5 separate regions of the Homo sapiens genome follow, and regions 1, 2, 3 and 4 are each linked to region 5. Evidence: promoter capture Hi-C in human tissues and cell types (Jung and others, 2019). All regions are on one chromosome and are shown on one strand. Each heading gives the region's core, a stretch centred on a gene start or on the middle of the fragment in contact. The rest is flanking DNA. Distances are from core to core; before and after follow the strand shown.

Region 1 (2,700 bases), core at 6-2,505, 1.6 Mb before region 5:
ATTTCACCGTGTTGACCAGGCTGGTCTCAAAGTCCTGACCTCAGGTGATCCACCTGCCTCGGCCTCCCAAACTGCTGGGATTACAGGCATGAGCCACTACTCCTGGCCTCAGCCAATATAATCTTAATCCTTACATGCTTTTCCTGGGAGAAAAGAATTGCTTTCCCCATGTAGTGTAGCCTCATAAGGCTATTCTGCAACAGGAGCAATTTTCTTTTCTGGGGAGGCTATAAACAATCTGGCGTATGCAGTGATATCTGGTTTGTAAGGTGTGTTTTACCTCTGTATACTCTAGAGTAGGGGGTCCCCAACCCCTGGGCCATGGACTGGTACTGGCCAGTGTCTTGTTAAGAACTGGGCCGCAGGCCAGGTCGGGCGCGGTGGCTTATGCCTGTAATCGCAACACTTTGGGAGGCTGAGGTGGGTGGATCACTTGAGGTCAGGAGTTCTCGACCAGCCTGGCCAACATGATGAAACCCCGTCTCTACTAAAAATACAAAAATTAGCCAGACCGCATGCCTGTAATCCCAGCTACTCGGGAGGCTGAGGCAGGAGAATCACTTGAACTCGGGAGGTGGAGCTTACAGTGAGCCAAGAAGCCAAGATTGCGCCACTGCACTCCAGCCTGGGTGACAGAGTGAGACTCCGTCTCAAAAAAATAAAATAAAATAAAAAAATAACTGGGCCGCATAATAGGAGATAAATGGCAGGCAAGCAAGCATTACCGTCTACATTCCTCCTCCTGTCAGAACAGTGGTGGCATCAGATTCTCATAGAAGCACAAATCCTATTGTGAACGGCGCATGCTAGGGACCTAGGTTGAACGCTCCTTATGAGAATTTAATGCCTGATGATCTCAGGTAGAACAGTTTCATCCTGAAACCATCCCCACCCCCACTTCCCATGGAAAAACTGTCTTCCAGGAAACCAGTCCCTGGTGCCAAAAAGACTGGGGACCGCTGCCCTAGAGACTCTGGTAATTAAAAGTGTTGTGGCTGAGATACAGTATGGGGTGAGATACTTACCAGCTAGGGAAAGATATTTACTAAACAGGAATATCCAGCTTAATATGGTGATGAATTGCTCAGTTTATTCCACCTCTTGTTGATTTCTTCATGATATTGGCTTAGGGCAGAGATGGCACATACATGGCAACATCCTTGACTCCCTTCCATCTCCCTAGAAAACAACATGGCAGACATCACAATGTTACCGGGGGTCCTTGCTCCCAGAGCTCCCAACATGGTGGCGGGTTGCTTCCAAGATGGCAGCAAGCCTCTCGTTCTCTGACCTGGGGTTCTTGGCCCCACGGATTCCAAGGAATGGAATCTTGGGCCATGCGGTGAATGTTATAGCTCTATTGGAAGACGTGGGTCATGGAAGAGAACCGTAGAACCCAGCGACTAGTGTTCATCTCAATTAGGACGAACCCAGGCACTTGCCGTGCAGGAACAACGGCAAGCCTTCAGCCCGATCGGGAGCAGCAGTGGGCGCCTCGCTGGATCAGGAGCACAGCAGACACCCTGCCAGATCCGGAGGGGTGGAAGTCAGCGGCGGGTCTGCGACTGCGGCAAACAGCAGTGGTGGACAACGAGCGAAAGCTTAGCTTGAGCGGTAACAAACACGGTACAAACACGGACCAGAAGAGTATGCAGTTACAAGATTTAATAGAGTGAAAACACAGCTCCCATACAAAGGGAGGGGAGCCAAAGAGGGTAGCCGTTGCCGGCTGGAATGCCTGGCTTTATATCCTGATCATTGTCCCTCCCACTGTGCTCTCAGGCAATAGATGATTGGTTAGTTCTTTACCTCCTGTTTTTGTCTGATTGGCATTTTAGTGAGCTCTCTTTACTACCTGATTGGTCGGGTGTGAGCTAAGTTGCAAGCCCCATGTTTAAAGGTGGATGCGGTCACCTTCCTAACTAGGCCTAGGGATTCTTAGTCGGCCTAGGAAATCCAGCTAGTCCTGTCTCTCAACAGTACATACTCTTTTCCAGTAAACTCTAGCCCCAGAGTCATTTTTGACACAGTTCTCCAGGCAGCCACCATCAATCGGTTGGAAGTGGGGATCGAAATAAGGTTGGGGATTCTCCCTGGCTCACAGTTTTACTGTTAGTATCTTCTGAATGCAAGGAACAGGGCATCTTTTTTAAAAAGAGGATTTAGGCCAGGCACGGTGGCTCATGCCTGTAATCCTAGCATTTTGGTAGGCCAAGGCAGGCGGATTGCCTGAGCTCAGGAGTTGGAGACCATCCTGGCAACATGACGAAACCCCATCTCTATAAAAAATACAAAAAAACTTAGCCGGGCATCGTGGTGCCTGCCTGTAGTCCCAATTACTTGGGAAGCTGAGGCACAAAAATTACTTGAACCTGGGAGGTGGAGGTTGCAGTGAGCCAAGATAGCACCACTGCACTCAAGCCTGGGTGACAGAGTGAGACTCTGTCTCCAAAAAAAACATAATAAAATAAATAAATAAATAAAAAGATGATTTAAGGATACATGTAGATTAAAATCAGAAAGTTGTTCAGGATTCAAGTCAAGTCAGGGCCTGGATTCTCTCCCTATGGCCTCCCTGTGCTACCTCTCACAGCTATCTGTGACTATGTTTTTAAGGTGCCCCATTTTCCTTTCATTTCCAACTGGCCAGTCCTCTCCGTATTCCCCAGTCCAGATGTTTCAGAGAGCTACTTTAACATG
Region 2 (2,700 bases), core at 191-2,690, 1.0 Mb before region 5:
AGTACATTATTTCCTCAAGTAGAACACAAACGCCACCCATCTGCTACTAACACCTTCTACTCCCACCACATTAGGGAAAGCTTGAAGTAGATGGAATGTAGCTGGTAACGGTGGTTCGAGCCTCTAATCCCAGCTACTTAAAAGGCTGAGGCAGGAGGACTGCTTGAGACCAGGAGTTCAAGGCTGCAGTGAGCTATGATGGTGCCACTGTGCACCAGCCTGGGTGACGGAGTGAGAGCCCTTCTCTAAGAAAGTAGATGGAACTCTAGGACAGCCCATTAGGGATGGTGCCAACCTCCTACCATCACTCCTATCACCTGTGATTCATTCATTCAATATTTACTAAGCCATGCTTGTGCTAAGCACTGGAAAATTGAGATGTATTATCACTTCTCTGACGCAGAGGACTGGCAACTCCAGTACATACTGTGGGGGCTCCCTAATCCCAGATTCAATGTCATAGTATCAGTTGAGGACCTTGGAGATCAAATCCCTTCTATAACCTCCCCGACAAGTGGCAGTCTAGACTTTGAACTCCAGCTAGGAGCCCAGGACAGCTGCTTACTCCTGTTACCATTTCCTTGTCATGTCCTCAGGAACTGGGACCAATCACATACTTCTCACTAGTGATACCTTGGGAGCCATCTGGGGAGAGGCTTTAAAACCTATTAAACCAGCAGCTCTTCAAATGTGGTCCTCAGACCCCTAGGGTTCCCTAAGACCTTTTCAGGGGTCCATAGGTCAAAATTATTTTCATAAAAATACCAAGACATTATTTTCCTTAGCTGGGGATGGTGGTGCACACCTGTAATTCCCAGCTACTTGGGAGGCTGAGGCACCAGAATTGCTTGAACCTGTGATGCGGAGGTTGCAGTGAGCCAAGATCACGCCACTGCACTCCAGCCTGGGCAACAGAGCAAGACTCAAAAAAAATGTCCTTGATGAAGTAAAAAAAAAAAATTTTTTTTTTTTTTTGAGACGGAGTCTCGGTCTGTAGCCCAGGCTGGAGTGTAGTGGCGTGATCTCGGCTCACTGCAACCTCCACCTCCTGTGTCCCGGTTCAAGCAATTCTCCTGCCTCAGCCTCCCGAGAAGCTGGGATTACAGGCACATGCCATCATGCCCAGCTAATTTTTGTATTTTTAGTAGAGACAGGGTTTCACCATGTTGGCCAGACTGGTCTTGAACTCCTGACCTCATGATCTGCCTGCCTCAGGCTCCCAAAGTGCTGGGATTACAGGCGTGAGCCACCACGCCCAGCCTAAATGTATTAATTTAATTAAACCTTAATCCTTAAGGAAAAGGCTTTTCAACATTCTGTCTGATAAAGTGGGAAGTATGCATAAGACATTTTGCATACCAAAGTATGATGGTTTTCTGGAGGAAATAACTTAGGCCATTCTTTGAGTTGTGAGCTGAACTAGCTGCTCTTTTATGGAATGCCACGTTTACTCAAAAGAATGGCCGACAAACTGTGGTTATCAGATTTAGGTAGCTGGCAGAACTTTTCTAAAAAGGAACAAAGTGAGTCTGTCACTTCAGGGAAAAATCTGACAGTGTTTGTTGCCAATGATATAATTCAAGCTTTCAAGTGAAAAATCGAATTTTGGAACACTTGTATTTGCTACATGAGCTTCACAGCTTCCCAAAATTTAAAACTTAAAGACTTTACTGTTCTCCAGTATAATACTATGAAGAAAAACAAAGACTTTACTGTTGAAACCTATTGTGATTTTTTTAAAATTTATTTATTTATTTATTTATTTATTTTTGAGACAGAGTCTCGCTCTGTTCCCCAGGCTGGAATGCAGTGGTGCAATCTCAGCTCACTGCAACTTCCACCTCCCAGGTTCAAGCAATTCTCCTGCCTCAGCCTCCTGAGTAGCTGGGACTACAGGCGCCCGCCACCACACCCAGCTAACTTTTTGTATTTTTAGTAGAGACAGGGTTTTGCCATGTTGCCCAGGCTGGTCTCGAACTCCTGAGCTCAGGCAATCCACCCACCTCGGCCTCCCAAAGTGCTGGGATTACAGGTATGAGCCACCGCACCTGGCCTGAAACCTATTGTGATTTTTAAAATAATGTATAATGAAACATTAATATTTGGAAGATTTGCATAGCTCAGTGAATCAATTATTTTCCATATGACGAATGCACGGTGTTACAAAATTATGCATGGGTAAAAGATCCAATCAGGTGCAGTTCAGAAAAACGGATTTTTTTTTTTTTTTTGAGACAGAGTCTTGCTCTGTCACCCAAGCTGGAGTGCAGTGGTGCAATCTCGGCTAACTGCAACCTTCGCCTCGCAGGTTCAAGTGATTCCCCTGCCTCAGCCTCCCGAGTGGCTGGGATTACAGGCGTGTGCCACCACCACACCTGACTAATTTTTGTAGTTTTAGTAGAGACGGGAGGGTTTCACCATGTTGGCCAGGCTGGTCTCGAACTCCTGACCTCAGGTGATCCACCCACCTTGGCGTCACAAAGTGCTGGGATTACAGGCGTGAGCCACCACACTTGGCCAAAACAACGGATTTTAGTTTAACAGTACAAAAAGGTCACTGATATGGTTTCACATTCTACATTGCAACTGCCCCTTAAGAAACTGCCAATTATCGGCCAGGCACAGTGGCTCAGGCCTGTAATTCCAGCACTTTGGGAGGCTGAGGCAGGAGGGTAGCTTGAGCCTAGGAGTTTGAGACCA
Region 3 (2,700 bases), core at 44-2,543, 1.2 Mb after region 5:
TACAGGCGTGAACCACTGTGCCTGGCCCTAATTTCAGTCCCTCACAGTTACAGCTCCAACCTGTTTTCCTCAGGTTTTCTCTGGAAAACAGGTGAGCAAACTAGTGTTCAAGATGACTGCCCTAGGCTCCTTTGCCCCAGCCCAGGATGACTCTTGTCTAGCCACAGAGGCCCCAGCTCCAGAGTAGGGAGGTGCTCAGGCTTTAGCTGAGGGGCCAGGGGAGGGGAGGGTGGAGATGGGCAGTCAGGAACCAGAACCCCAGGGGAAGGGAAGGGGAAAAGCCTAGCAGGAAGCCTTATGTGTGAGCAAGTGTACACAGGATAATGGTTAAGCACCCTCATGGATGTGCCTGCCTTGGTGGGTCTCTGCCTTTAACTTCACAGGTGGACAGAGACAGAGTGGATCTTAAGTATGGCATGATTTGTCTGTTCTGTGTGTGGTGCACGTGCACGCCTCTGTATGCACTAGTCTGTCTGTCTGTCGGTATTCACCTCCAGCTCTGGTTTGCTGCAAAAGGGGAACTCTGCCCTGTTTTTTAGAGGGCAGGTTAGAAAAAGCTCTCAAGTCAGAGGCAGGGACCCTGGATTTCTTCCCCTGGCTTTAAATGAAGCTTTCTTCTTGGGGTTTCACTTTTCCCAGTTTTTTTTGTTTTGTTTTTTTTTTAAAGAGACTGGGGGTCTCACTATGTTGCCCAGGCTGGTCTCAAATTCCTGGGCTCAAGTGATCCTCCCATCTTGGCCTCCCAAAGTGCTAGGATACAGAGTTTCCCGTGTTCTGACTGACCTAAGCCTCATTTGGTGAACTCAACAAGGGCCCTCCTTTCTGGCTATGGCATCTGACAACCTCCTCTACCCCCGAATCCTGTTAGCTGAAGACCCTATTTTCCTCTGCCCAGCTCCATACTTTGGGGGAGGAAAGCAAGAACCCCAAGCCTAAGGGGTCCATATGGCATGTTATATCAATGAAATCCTCAGGGCTGCTCAGTCCCTGACCTATTAAGTCAGATTTAGGCTAGCCAGCCCCCCTCCCCCAAGTTTACATGTAACCCCCCCAACATCCGGTACTTGCTTTATGAGTCACAGATTAATCCAGGTGAGTGATAAGGGCGAGGGGAAGCCTGGGGCACGTGAGTCACCCGTACCCTTCACAGGAAAGGCCAATCTGCTCATCTACCCCTGAGAGGGAGAAGGAGGAGGCATCTCACACTGCCCCAGGGAACCAAGGAGGACCAAGAAGAAGGGTGTTTCAAACCAGAGGGAGACTTCCTCTTCTACTTCAGAAATGAATGGGGAGTATAATTTTCTGGTTTATATCAGGCCAAGATGTGTAGGAACTTGTCTAGGGTCACACAGGAACTTGTGGGGTACAGCTACTGAGAATCTAGGTGTCCTGGCTCCAGGCAAGCCACCTGCTTGAACTTGGCTTTCCTGGGGCCAAGGGGTGGAGTGTGGAGGAAGAAAGGACTAGAAACGCCTGAGCTGCAGACCTCTCCAGTGGGGCAGGGGAGTAGGGAAAAGCCAGGAGCCTCACCTGTTTTGGGCCACTTGCCAGCCTAACCCCTTCTCCTTCTTCCCAAGCCTTTTATTTATTTATTATTATTATTTTTTTTTTTATTTGAGACGCCCAGGCTGGAGTGCAGTGGCCCGATCTCGGCTCACTGTAACCTCCGCCTCCCAGGTTCAAGCGATTCCCCTGTCTCAGTCTCCCAAGTAGCTGGGATTACAGACACTCGCCATCATGCCTGGCTAATTTTTGTAGTTTTGTAGAGACAGGGTGGGGGGCGGTTTCACCATGTTGCCTAGGCCGGTCTTGGAACTCCTGACCTCAGGTGATCCACACACCTCAGCTTCCCAAAGTGCTGGGATTACAGGCATGAGCCACTGTGCCCGGCCTGCCCAAGGCTTTTGAATGCAGCTTTTATCAGCAGCCCAGAGGAGCAGGGTGAAGGATATGGAGAGTGGGGTTGTGCAGGGAGAGAGGGAGTATGAGCATTCTGGTCAACCTCAGCTCAAGCCTAAATCTCCTCTGTTCCCTGGCCTGGGAGCTCAAAAGCAGGACCCAGCTCTCCTCTATTCTCCCAGATTGGAAACTTCCACAGGTCAGGGCTTGGGTCTCCCCAGGACTGAAGAGGCCAAGGTTGGGCCCTGTCTGGAGGGGCAAGGAAGCACTCAGACTGAGCCCCAGTTCCACTTGATGACCAACGGTTTGGATGAAGAGGATAGTTATGGCCAGGCACGGTGGCTCACGCCTGTAATCCCAGCACTTAGGGAGGCCGAGGCGGGCAGATCATGAGGTCAGGAGATCGAGACCAGCCTGGCCAATATGGTGAAACCCCGTCTCTACTAAAAATACCAAAAGTAGCTGGGTGTGGTGGCACGTGCCTGTAATCCCAGCTACTCAGGAGGCTGAGGCAGGAGAATTGCTTGAACCCGGGAGGCAGAGGTTGCAGTGAGCTGAGATTGCATCACTGTACTCCAGCCTGGGTGACAGAGCAAGACTCCATCTCAGAAAAAAAAAAAAGAAAATTATGGCATCCTGCCCTCTCCCCAGTCTCCCTCCACAACCTCCACAATGCCCCCACCCCCATCTCCCAACCTATGGGGGTCCCTCTGGAGCCTAGTTCTCACTGACCCCCAGTCTCGAGACCAGGAAGTCATTCTTGAAGTCTGACTTTGGAATCTCCTGCTGCAGCCTGTTCCC
Region 4 (2,700 bases), core at 201-2,700, 1.5 Mb after region 5:
CCAGAAGTTTTGAATTTTTATGTGTTTAAATCTATGTTTTCCTTTATGACTTCAGGTTGCTTTCATACTTAAGCAGGTCTTCACCATCCCAAAATGATAAAATTTTTCTCCTGAGTTTTCTTCTAAGTTGGTTCTTTAGAAGCCACCAACTTGGCTTCGACAGCAAAAGATGAACAGAATTTCTGTTCAACTCTCATGCTGCAAGAAGCTTTATGTAATACTCCAGGGACCCTTTAAGGTCCCAGAGTTTTCCTCCAAATCTATCAGTGATTCTAGTGGCTAAGAGTAGAAATGTGAAAATTTAGCCATGTGTGCTGATAGAGCTGTAGTAATTTGTAAGCTCTGAAGTTCTAAGGAGTCAGGGGAGAAGGGAAAGTAACATTTATTGAACATCTATTAGCTCAATAAGAACATGCGATAAGTATGTATATGTATTATTTCACTTACATCTGAAAGGAAGGCATAATTATCCCCACTCCTTAGAGAAGGAAATTGGAGCTGGCTACATTTAAAGTAGTCCTGACACCAGAGAGATATTGCCAGGAGTACTTGGCTGGCTGAGTGCCCAGATGGCCCATAGGAGTAGTGGGCCCTCCACAGTCCAAGGTCTGGTTCTAGGTGGAGAGAGAAGGATGTGCTCGTAGTCAGCACCGCAGCTCCAGAAAATCTGCTGGGGCTCCAAAACTGATTAGAGGGGCAGCTGACTCAGTAATAAAACTCCCAGGAGACTTACTTACATACTGGAATGCAAAGTTGCAGCTTTACTGGGAAGATTAGAACTGTTATTGAGTAGCTTAGAAATCTCTGGCTGAATTCACTGCAAGGGAAGCCGCAGGATAAGCTAACTGCTGGTGAGTCAGCAGTCAGAGCAGGGAAGTGAATTTAACATTAGATGGGTCAGTCTCTCGTGGCTGATGAATTCATCCCCACAATACTGTACACCTGCCTTAGGGACCTTTGTCTGGACTAGGGGTTGGGGTCCCCCTCCTTTGTACAGCCCTGGAAGGACACATCCAGCTCCATCCGCCATCTCTCCCTTACTTATTTCCTTCCTTCCTTCCTTCTTTCCATCCAGCCATCAAGCTTCCTTTCATGGCCAATAATCATCATTGGGGTCTACTCATGGACTCTCTTGCCTCATGTATTTGTTTTATTTTGTCCTCATTCCCACTTCTATTTCCCAGGTATATCACAGGCAACTATTCTAACGTATTTATAGTTTGTGTATCTGTTTTTGCTCTTGCCAAAATGGAAGCCACTGCTTTATACATAGATGTATTCTTAACTTTAAAAAAAATTTTTTTAGATTAACCTACAATAAAATTGGCTTTTTGGCATATAGTCTATAAATTTTAACACATACATATTTTTGTGTATCTACCACCACAATCAGGATACAGAACAGTTCCATCACCCCAAAAAAATCCCTCTTGTAGTCACATTCTCCTCCCACCCTTAATCCCAGGCAACCACTGATCTATTCTTCATTACTATTGTTTTGTCTTTTTGAGGATGTCACATAAATGGAGTCACACAGTATATATACATTTTTTTAAACATATGTAAATGGCATTTTATAGCTCATTTTGATTATATGTTTTTCATCCAGTTCTGTTTTTTTTTTTTATTTTTAAAAAGTTTGACATAACTTCAGACTTACAGAAAAGTTGTTAGACTAATACAAAGAATTCCTGGATATCCTTTGGAGTCCCTAAATGTTAACATTTTACTATATTTACTTTTTCCTTCTCTCTCTCTCTCTCTCTCGCTCTGTGTGTGTGTGTGTGTGTGTGTGTGTGTGTGTATCTACCTGTAGATAGATAGATATTAATATAATTTTAGATAGATGTATCTAGATCTCTCTCTCTCATATATATGTGTGTGTGTATATATCTATATCTATATCTATATATATCTCCTTTTACCCTTAAATATTCAGTGTATATTTCCTAACAACAAGGTGATTTAAAAATATATATATAAACATAGTATAATTAACAATCAGGACATCAACATTGAAACATTTCTGCTATGTCATCTACAGGCCTTAGGAAGACTTTGTCAGGTGCCCCAATAATAGCCTTGATGGTAGAAGAAAACCATGTGTTGTATTCAGTTGTCATGTCTCTTAGTGTCTTGTAATCTGAAATAATTCCCAAGCCCTTTGGATTTCATGACAGTGACATTGTTGAAGAGTACAGGCCAGTTATTTTGTAGAAGGTCTCTCAGTTTAGGTCTGTCTGATGTTTCCTCCTGATCAGATTCAGGTTATTCACTTTTGACAGGAATACCACTGAAATGATGCTGAGTTCTTCTCAGTGTAACGAGATCTAGAGACACACACTGTCAGTTTGTTCCTTATTGGCAGTGTGAACCTTGAGGATTTCATTGTAGTGGCATTTGGCATTACTCCATTATAGTTACTATTTTACCATTTTAAATTAAAACTATCTGGCCGGGCGTAGTAGCTCATGTCTGTAATCCCAGCACTTTAGGAGGCTGAGGCGGGCAAATTGCTTGAGGTCAGAAGTTTGAAACCATCCTAGCCAACATAACATGGTGAAACGCCATCTCTATAAAAAATACAAAAAATTAGCCTGGCGTGGTGGCGCATTTGTAGTTCCAGCTACTCAGGAGGCTGAGGCACAAGGCTTGCTTGAGCCTGGGAGGCGGAGGTTGCAGTGAGCTGAAATCACGCCA
Region 5 (2,700 bases), core at 1-2,500:
ACTGAGGCCCATGCATCAACAACAGCCCGGATCTCAGGGACCGACATGAGTGGCAGCGTTACATCCGACCAGGGGTGGAAGCACATGACCTTACTGGGTGGTGACGGGAGAAAAGATAACCGAGAGGTAGGGCTTGGCTGTGCTACGGGCAGGGCCGAACCCCAATGCTGAGTCTCCAACTCTGGTTTGAAAGTTGTAAGAGGGGAAATCCATAGTTACCAGACTCCTCGAGCAGACTTTGCTTGGAAAAGGGGATGATCACTGGGTCCTGAGGTAAAGGAGTATCACTCTCTGCAGCAGAAGTCCCTCAAGAGGTCTAGCCACCCTCCTCCCCAGCAGCAGTTGGAGCCAGGTTACCTGGACTGGGGGCATCAGGCTGCAGAGCTGGGAAGTCGTTGTCAAACAGGAAGGTGCTATCGTACTGGGGATTCACCTACCGACAAGGATAGGCTAGAAGCACTCACTGCCCCATACCACCAGTTACCTGGTGGGCTTCAAAGACTGGACAGGCTACAAGGGAGTAGGGAAGGCCCACCCTAGGGGACCAAAAAGCTTGGTGGGATATGACCCAGAAGGAGGTTCACTATCCCTGTGGGTGGAGGACAGTTCTAAGAGGGAACTACTCCCCGTGGCCCAGCCTGCAGATGCAGGGCTCTACAGGCTTACCTCTCCGTTGGCTCGGATGGCCCCAGGACACAGAGGGTTGAGAGGGTCATGGCGGGGCACTGTCTTCAGAAGCTGGGGCTCCACTTGACCCTGCCAGGGCCGCTTCATGCGGTGAGCTGACACCAGCACCCACTCATCCTGCAGCGGGTTGTAGCGGATATGCTGATGGTCTGGGGGCAGACAGTCAAGATCAGTCCTCAGAGCTCTCTAGCTCCCTCTCTCCTGGGTCTCACCCACCAGCAGGCCCAAGCTCGGGAGCGCCCTCTCGGCCCTGTCCCGCTCAGGAGCTAGAGGCCCAGGATTGGACTTTCCCAGCGCCAATTGGCCTGCTGCTCGTACAGGCCTGCAGACTGTACGCCTTGTCGGTCTGGCTCGGGATGAGCGTTCCAACCTTCGGAGGGGACGAAAGCTTCCTAAGGAAGGGGAGGGCTCGGCTCCGCGCCCCAGCGAGTCCCTGCCGCGGTGCAGTTACCGTTTGCCCGGAAGGTTGCTGCTGCGGCGTCCGCCTCTGACGCCTGCTGGCGTTGCTGAGGATCGGTTCCACTGCGCGACATGAGGCCACCGGGGGATCCGCTGGAAAATCTGCAGGGCCGTGCCTCACCTTTCACTTTCTCCGTCCACACCACCCCTCCCCGCGCCGCCCCCGATGATTGGCCAGCCGCCAGCACGTGACTGACTGACTGGGCTGCCCTGCCACCTGGGGGCGGGGCTCAGAACAGCTGTGAACCCTGGGGGCCGACATTGATGATCCTACTTCACCCAGAGCTAGAGCCACTACACTGGAAGAACCTCTGTGAAAGCTGCCTACTGCAGAATCCTTGGGCTCCAGGATGCCTACAGGACTTGCTTGCTGCAATCATTCATTTGATCTTTCATTCAGCAAATATTTACCAAGCATCTAGCATGTGCTAGGCACCTAGGCTGTGTAAAGCATTGGGATGCACATGTCAGGCATGGCCTCTGCCCTGCCTGAGCTTACATTCTAGGGCGAGTAAGGATATGACCCTGGATCAACAGCGCCTCAGTCACCTGCTCAGTGGCTGTAGCGCAGGAGAGGCAAACTTGGTGGGGTCTGTGTGGAGTACTTCACCATAACCATATCCTATCCCCAAAAGCAAAAACAGATTTGGGAAAAAGGGCTAAGTAACCATATTCTCTTTTTCTCTCACTCTTGCTCTCCTTCCTCTCTCTCTCTCTCTCTTTTTCATACACACACCAAGACAGCACAAGAAGTGGGAGGGGTAAAAGGGCTATAAAAAAAAATCTAAAAATGGCCGGGCTCGGTGGCTCACGCCTGTAATCCCAACACTTTGGGAGACCAAGGCAGGCGGATCACAAGGTCAAGAAATTGAGACCATCCTGGCCAACATGGTGAAACCCCGTCTCTAGTAAAAAAAAAAAAAAAAAAAATTAGCTGGTCTTGGTGGCGTGCACCTGTAGTCCCACCTACTCGGGAGGCTGAGGCAGGAGAATCACTTGAACCCAGGAGGCAGAGGTTGCAGTGAGCCGAGATTGTGCCCATGCACTCTAGCCTGGCGACAGAGCAGACTCCGTCACAAAAAAAAAAAAAAAAGTACAAGAAAGTCTAAAAATGTGGAGAGTACAGGACTATCAGAAGCTCCAGCCACCATCTAGGTGGGGCCTAGTGTTTCCTTTACACATCCCCTTCCCTTTTCTAAATTTTCCTTGGATGGGACCAATTGGCTAACACTAGGATAAAATTCAAATTAATTCCTCCCCTGGTACTTTTGTTTGTTTGTTTGTTTGAGAGAGAGTCTCACTCTGCCACCCAGGCTGGAGTGCAGTGGCGTGATCTTGGCTCACTGCAACCTCCACCTCCCAGGTTCAAGCGATTCTCCTGCCTCAGCCTCCAAGTAGCTGGAATTAGAGCTGTGTGCCACCACACTGGGCTAATTTATGTATTTTTAGTAGAGACGGGGTTTCACATGTTGGCCAGGCTGGTCTTGAACTCCTGACTTCAAGTGATCCTCCTGCCTCAGCCTCCCAAACAGCTGGCCCCCAGTACTTTTAAAG

What was found. The method cuts DNA at HindIII sites, captures the fragments that hold promoters and counts their contacts. A contact is called where the count stands out against the background at its distance.
Region 1: a fragment that was not itself captured here is called in contact with the fragment with the promoter of GALT in region 5 in 1 of the 25 tissues and cell types used here (pancreas).
Region 2: a contact is called between a fragment that was not itself captured here and the fragment with the promoter of GALT in region 5, in 1 of the 25 tissues and cell types used here (dorsolateral prefrontal cortex).
Region 3: a contact is called between a fragment that was not itself captured here and the fragment with the promoter of GALT in region 5, in 1 of the 25 tissues and cell types used here (heart right ventricle).
Region 4: a contact is called between a fragment that was not itself captured here and the fragment with the promoter of GALT in region 5, in 1 of the 25 tissues and cell types used here (small bowel).

What each region holds. Positions count from the first base shown.
Region 1 is chr9:36,263,900-36,266,599 of GRCh38, reverse strand. LOC124902150 (a long non-coding RNA gene) reads right to left here. Exons shown (of 3, transcript XR_007061473.1): 2 at 1,026-1,179. It also overlaps a transcript of GNE not described here. Among named protein-coding and RNA genes, the nearest start is that of GNE, 6.8 kb to the right of the region's middle. The HindIII fragment of the contact is 4,032 bases long and covers 1-2,700 here.
Region 2 is chr9:35,693,840-35,696,539 of GRCh38, reverse strand. No RefSeq gene overlaps it. Among named protein-coding and RNA genes, the nearest start is that of TPM2, 5.3 kb to the right of the region's middle. The HindIII fragment of the contact is 3,222 bases long and covers 1-2,700 here.
Region 3 is chr9:33,457,112-33,459,811 of GRCh38, reverse strand. No RefSeq gene overlaps it. Among named protein-coding and RNA genes, the nearest start is that of MIR6851, 9.5 kb to the left of the region's middle. RefSeq lists enhancers at 1,055-1,214, 459-1,658. The HindIII fragment of the contact is 5,989 bases long and covers 1-2,700 here.
Region 4 is chr9:33,149,338-33,152,037 of GRCh38, reverse strand. The region is part of intron 1 of B4GALT1 (beta-1,4-galactosyltransferase 1); the gene reads left to right. Among named protein-coding and RNA genes, the nearest start is that of B4GALT1-AS1, 16 kb to the left of the region's middle. The HindIII fragment of the contact is 4,121 bases long and covers 1-2,700 here.
Region 5 is chr9:34,645,225-34,647,924 of GRCh38, reverse strand. GALT (galactose-1-phosphate uridylyltransferase) reads right to left here and starts at 1,250. Exons shown (of 11, transcript NM_000155.4): 1 at 1,139-1,250; 2 at 667-836; 3 at 358-433; 4 at 220-268; 5 at 1-93. The coding sequence starts at 1,220. RefSeq lists enhancers at 646-825, 1,396-1,505. The HindIII fragment of the contact is 1,689 bases long and covers 815-2,503 here.